Linked DNA regions of Homo sapiens: region 2 is linked to region 1. The links are contacts of gene promoters, found by promoter capture Hi-C in human tissues and cell types (Jung and others, 2019). All regions are on one chromosome and are shown on one strand. Each heading gives the region's core, a stretch centred on a gene start or on the middle of the fragment in contact. The rest is flanking DNA. Distances are from core to core; before and after follow the strand shown.

Region 1 (2,939 bases), core at 121-2,620:
AAAAAAAAAAAAAAAAAAAAAAGGATCAGAGAGCCAGGCAGAGAGGCCAGGGAACCAACAATAGTGTCCTTTCCTCGGACACAAATTACATGCAAATGTATCACACAGACAGCATTTCCCTTGCATGGAATGGAGATTATTTACAAGCATCATATATCTCCACAAAGGGTTGCTGAGCTTCAAAGATTGTCGGGGTTGGTTTTGCTGTTATAAGATAAACAAACATCCTCTAGTACTCAAATTAGAAGGGAACCATAGAAAATGCTTATAAAGAATTCTCGGCTGGGCATGGTGGCTCATGCCTGTAATCCCAGCACTTTGAGAGGCCGAGGCGGGCGGATCATGAGGTCAGGAGATCAAGACCATCCTGGCTAACACAGTGAAACCCTGTCTCTACTAAAAATACAAAAAATTAGCTTGGCGTGGTGGCGGGTGCCTGTAGTCCCAGCTACTTGGGAGGCTGAGGCAGGAGAATGGTGTGAACCCAGGAGGTGGAGCTTGCAGTGAGCCGAGATCGCGCCACTGCACTCCAGCCTGGGCGACAGAGCAAGACTCTGTCTCAAAAAAAAAAAAAAGAAAAAAAAGAATTCTGTACACTCACAAACCTTCTGTGTCTAGACTTGCATGCTCTACTGCCAAATGTGCACCAAATTCAAGTCAGACAGGCATACCTGTGTAATCTGGATGGGATCAAGGTTTTTGTGTGCGCTTATTAAAGTGAAATGAAAAAGAGAAGAAAGTGGCAATCCCTAAAGAGAAAGCAGTTAACAGAGAGTGAAGAGCATAAGATCTAATTTCCAAGCAAATGTTTATCTAATTATACTCTATTTTATGGACCTTTCTACCAGCAAGCACACAGTACACATTCACATGGCAGATAAGAGGACTCCAGGCTACGATTCTCACTCCACTGAATGAGGAATTCAATGACTCACCCGTGGATCTCGAGGCAGCCCCTTGAATCCCAGGCAACTGGGTTTTATGAAAGAACACTTTGGGCTCTTTGGTGATGTTTCTGGGTGGTTGTGACCGTTTACTGCCTTGAAAAGAAAACTTTTTGCGGTGAAATGTAATTACCTTCTTTTTATCTCCCCTGAAACAGCTTTTCAATTCTCCCTGAGTCACATAAAACCAGTGGTTGAAGCTACCTGGTAAGCCTGTTATGTTTCCAGTGGGATGGAGTCCATCTGCATACGGCAAGCATAAATGAAGTTGGCATTCCATTAAAAACAAAAACAAAATGAGGAAACCACTCTGAACCTTGTCCATCACTCTCAAATTATCAGTATTTTATCCCGTAGATGAAAGGAAATACTTAGCTACAGTCCAGCATCTGTCCTCTATTTATCTGAGGAATCAAGAAGTTCTACTCCCTTCAGAATGTTTGGGCAGTGACTTGGAGCCACCAGTGTGAGGTCAGTCCTTGCTGTGATAATGGAGTTCCTTCATGGAACCATGCTGACCAATGGGGAGACTACAGTGTAAGAGGGCAGTGCTTGGAGGTGCAGGCATGATGAGACCAGGTCCCTGCCTGCAGTGTGCAGATTAGTGAGGAGGCAGAAAGAAATCAATTACAGTCAGCCCTCCGCATGCATAGTTCCCCATCCGTGATTTCCAACAACCTCACTTGGAAAATGTTCAGGAAAAAAGGAATGGGCACGGTGGCTCACGCCTATGATCCCAACACTTTAGGAGGTCAAGGTGGGCAGATCGCTTGAGGCCAGGAGTTCAAGACCAGCCTGGCCAACACAGTGAAAGCCCATCTCTACTAAAAATACAAAAATTTGCTGGGCGTGGTGGTGCACACCTGTAGTTCAAGCTACTTGGGAGGCTGAGGCATGAGAATCACTTGAACCCAGGAGGTGGAGGTTGCAGTGAGCTGAGATCATGCCACTGCACTCCAGCCTGGGCGACAGAGCAAGACTCTGTCTCAAAAAAATAAAACAACAAACACAAAAACAAAAACTAGCCAGGCATGGTGGCGTGTACCTGTAGTCCCAGATACTCGGGAGGCTGAGGCAGGAAGATCACTTGAGCCCAGAAGGCAGAGGTAGCAGTGAGCCAAAATCGTACCACTGCACAAAGAAAGAAAGAAAAGAAAGTGGAAGGAAAGCAGTCACCCTTAGAAGGGAGGCAATGTGCACAGGGGAGACCCACAGCAGGAAGGTAAAGGGGGACTCCTGATGACTGAAAGTGGGCCCTAGGCTTCAGAGATGGGAGGAATAGAAGACGGGCTCAAAAAAGGCAATGAACTATGTCATGTATGAGGGAGACAGAGGGGACCTGGGAGTGCTGGATGTTAGGGACCACTGAAATCAATACTGTCCAGGCTGTGCATGATAGGTGAGAGGAAGGGAATACTTCCAGGAAGAAGCAGAAGTCTGGGACTTTCTTTTGACTCGTGATGTGACCTGACCAACAGGAGGCCCTTTTTTTTTTTTTTTTTTTTTTTTGAGATGGAGTCTTGCCCTGTCACCCACACTGGAGTGCAGTGGCACAATCTTGGCTCACTGCAACCTCCACCTCCTGGGTTCAAACGATTCTCCTGCCTCAGCCTCTGGAACCGCTGGGATTACAGGCATCTGCCACCACACCCAGCTAATTTTTGTATTTTTAGTAGAGATGGGCTTTCACCATGTTGGCGGCCAGGCCAGTCTCGAACTCCTGATCTCATGATTCACCCACCTTGGCCTCCCAAAGTGCTGGGGTGACAGGAGTGAGCCACTGTGCCCTGCCAGGAGGCCCTTTAAGACATTAAAAAAACTCTTATCTGTTTAAACAGAGATGGGATCTTGCTACGTTGCAAGGCTGGCCTTGAACTCCTCAGCTCAAGCAATCCTCCTGTCCCTCCCAAAATGCTGGCATGAGCCTCGGTGCCCGGCCTAGAAATTTTTTCAAGATAATAATCTTAGTAATAAGGTTATAAGTTACCAGGATGC
Region 2 (2,939 bases), core at 246-2,745, 300 kb after region 1:
GGCAGGCTGGGCGTGGTGGCTCACGCCTGTAATCCCAGCTCTTTGGGAGGCTGAGGCAGGCAGATCACCTGAAGTCAAGAGTTTGAGACCAGCCTGGCCGACATTGTGAAACCTCATCTCTAATAAAAATTCAAAAATTAGCCAGGCATGGTGGCAGCCGCCTATAATCCCAGCTATTCAGGAGGCTGAGGCAGGAGAATCGCTTGAACTCGAGAGGTAGAGGTTGCAGTGAGCTAAGATTGTGCCACTGCACTCCAGCCTTGGGCGACAAAGCGAGACTCTGTCTCAAAAAAAAACAAACAAAAAAAATGTCAGGGTCGGGCATGGTGGCTCACACCTGTAATCCCAGCTACTTGGGAGGCTGAGGTAGGAGAATTGCTTGAACCCAGGAGGTGGAGGTTGCAGTGAGCTAAGATTGTGCCACTGCACTCCAGCGTGGGCGACAAAGCGAGACTCTGTCTCAAAAAAAAAAAAAAAAAAAAAGATGGCAGGGCTGGCATGGTGGCTCACGCCTGTAATCCCAGCACTTTGGGAGACCGAGGCAGGTGGATCACTCTAGGTTAGGAGTTTGAGACCAGCCTGGCCAAGATGGTGAAACCCTGTCTCTACTAAAGATACAAAAATTAGCCAAGTGTGGTGATAAATGCCTGCAATCCCAGCTACTCAGGAGGCTGACGCAGGAGTATCACTTGAACCTGGGAGGCAGAGGTTGCAATGAGTCTAGATCATGCCACTGGACTCCAGCCTGGGCGACAGAATGAGACTCTGTCTCAAAACAGAGCAAATGGCATGGCAGAACCTTCTCTAGAGAAAATAGTTTTGAATCTAAGAAAGGAATAGCTTTAATCTAGAAAAGGAATAGGGCAAGAAAAGGAATGTTTATTCACCCATAACTTAAAAAAAAAGGTAATTTTAATTGAAGGCTTCAAGGTAAATTGTGCTCAAACTATACAAATTCTGCTAGATGGTTATAGTTCCTATGTGAAGGTAACTTTAGAAAGTAGTGTTCACTTGACACTGATGTGAGTAATTCTTGCTGGAGGGGGCAAAAAGCTCATGAAATTTGAATAAAGGAGGAGGAGATGCAGTCAGATTGTTGATTGACCCTTCAGGGAATGGCATTTGCATAGCTGTGACGTGAACCCTAGGTATTGGCTTTTTTTTTCTTTTTTTTTGAGAAGGAGTCTCTGTTGCCCAGTCTGGAGTGCAGTGGCGCGATCTTGGCTCACTGTAACCTCCGCCTCCCGGGTTCAAGCAATTCTCCTGCCTCAGCCTCCTGAGTAGCTGGGATTACAGGCACGTGCCACCACGCCCAGCTAATTTTTGTATTTTTAGTAGACACAGGGTTTCACCATGTTGGTCAGGATGGTCTCCAACTCCTCACCTTGTGATCCGCCCACCTTGGCATCCCAAAGTGCTGGGATTACAGGGATGAGCCATTGCACCCGGCCTGTATTGGCTTTTAATTTTTAGGAAGTAACACATGGCTGTGACCTGACAACTTCATAGTGGCCGTAGGGTAGGGCACTGTTGTCATTATTCCTGTCACTGACAATGTCAGCCCCACCTGCAGATGTGGGAGAGTAGATGGGGAAAGTAGTAGTGGAGAGTAGAGGTTTCCCTTACCATCCTTTTAGGAAGTAGGCTTTTAAACATGATATGTAAGTTTATTTAGAAGATGAAAATTAAAGCTTGAAATGTAATATGAGAGGAATTGGCAGCGGATGTGAGTCAGATCCTCACCTGTCAGAGCAGGAAGTTAGTGAAAACTAAAGATGATTGGCTGGATGCGGTGGCTTATGCCTGTAATCCCAGCACTTTGGGAGGCTGAGGTGGGTGGATCACCTGAGGTCAGGAGTTTGAGACCAGCCTGGCCAACATGGTGAAACTCTGTCTCTACTAAAAATACAAAGATTAGCCCAGCGTGGTGGTGGGCACCTGTAATCCCAGCTACTCAGGAGGCTGAGGCAGGAGAATCGTTTGAACCCAGGAAGTGGAGGTTGCAGTGAGCTGAGATTGCATCACTGTGCTCCAGCCTGGGCAACAGAGTCAGACTCCGTCTCCAGGAAAAAAAAAAAAAAAAAGACTAAAGATGATCAAAGATTAGAATTACGGAGGTGTCCTCAAGAAGAATTGGAACAGATATGGTTAAAAGTGGCTGGAGGTGGGTGCAGTGGATATGGTGGTGCACACCTGTAATCCCAGTGCTTTGGGAGGCTGAGGCAGGTGGATCACTTGAGCCTAAGAGTTGGAGACCAGCCTGGGCAACATGGCGAGACCTGGTCTCTACAAAAAATACAAAAATTAGCCGGGCATAGTAGCACATACCTGAAGTCCCAGCTACTCAGGAAGCTGAGTTGGGAGGATTCTTTGACCCCAGGAGGTTGAGGCTGCAGTTAGCTGTTATTATATCACTGCACTCCAGCCTATGTGACAGTGTGAGACCCTATCTCAAAAAAAAAGTGATGTCGGGAGGCTGAGAGGATGAGTGACTGGGGCAGGAGATGAGTACTTTCCCTTTTAAGCCCATAGCATTTAATTCCCTGGTGGTTCACTTCTTATTTGGATAACTAACAAATTATTTCAAATGTGTGCCTATAGGTGAGAGAAGCAATGGTACATGAGGAGGTAAGCATTTGATTTGTGGGATTATGAACAACTGTCCTACTCTCCTTTTGATTCGGTGTCTCTGTATTAGTGATCTGACAATTTAAAAAATCAAGCAAGAGCAGGCTGGGCGCAGTGGCTCATGCCTGTAATCCCAGCACTTTGGGAGGCCGAGGCGGGCGGATCACTTGAGGTCAGGAGTTGAAGACCAGCCTGGCCGACATGGTGAAACCCTGTCCCCACTAAAAATGCAAAAATTATCTGGGCGTGGTGGTGGGTGCCTGTAATGCCAGCTACTTGGGAGGCTGAGCAGGAGAATCGCTGGAACCCGG

What was found. Contacts are between HindIII fragments. The study calls those that stand out against the background at their distance.
Region 2: a fragment that was not itself captured here is called in contact with the fragment with the promoter of C19orf18 in region 1 in 1 of the 25 tissues and cell types used here (pancreas).

Annotation. Positions count from the first base shown.
Region 1 is chr19:57,973,164-57,976,102 of GRCh38, forward strand. C19orf18 (chromosome 19 open reading frame 18) reads right to left here and starts at 1,371. Exons shown (of 6, transcript NM_152474.5): 1 at 1,149-1,371; 2 at 936-1,040. The coding sequence starts at 1,269. The HindIII fragment of the contact is 10,862 bases long and covers 1-2,939 here.
Region 2 is chr19:58,269,149-58,272,087 of GRCh38, forward strand. All of the region lies in intron 1 of ZNF8-DT (ZNF8 divergent transcript), which reads right to left. It also overlaps a transcript of ZNF544 not described here. Among named protein-coding and RNA genes, the nearest start is that of ZNF8-DT, 8.1 kb to the right of the region's middle. The HindIII fragment of the contact is 7,344 bases long and covers 1-2,939 here.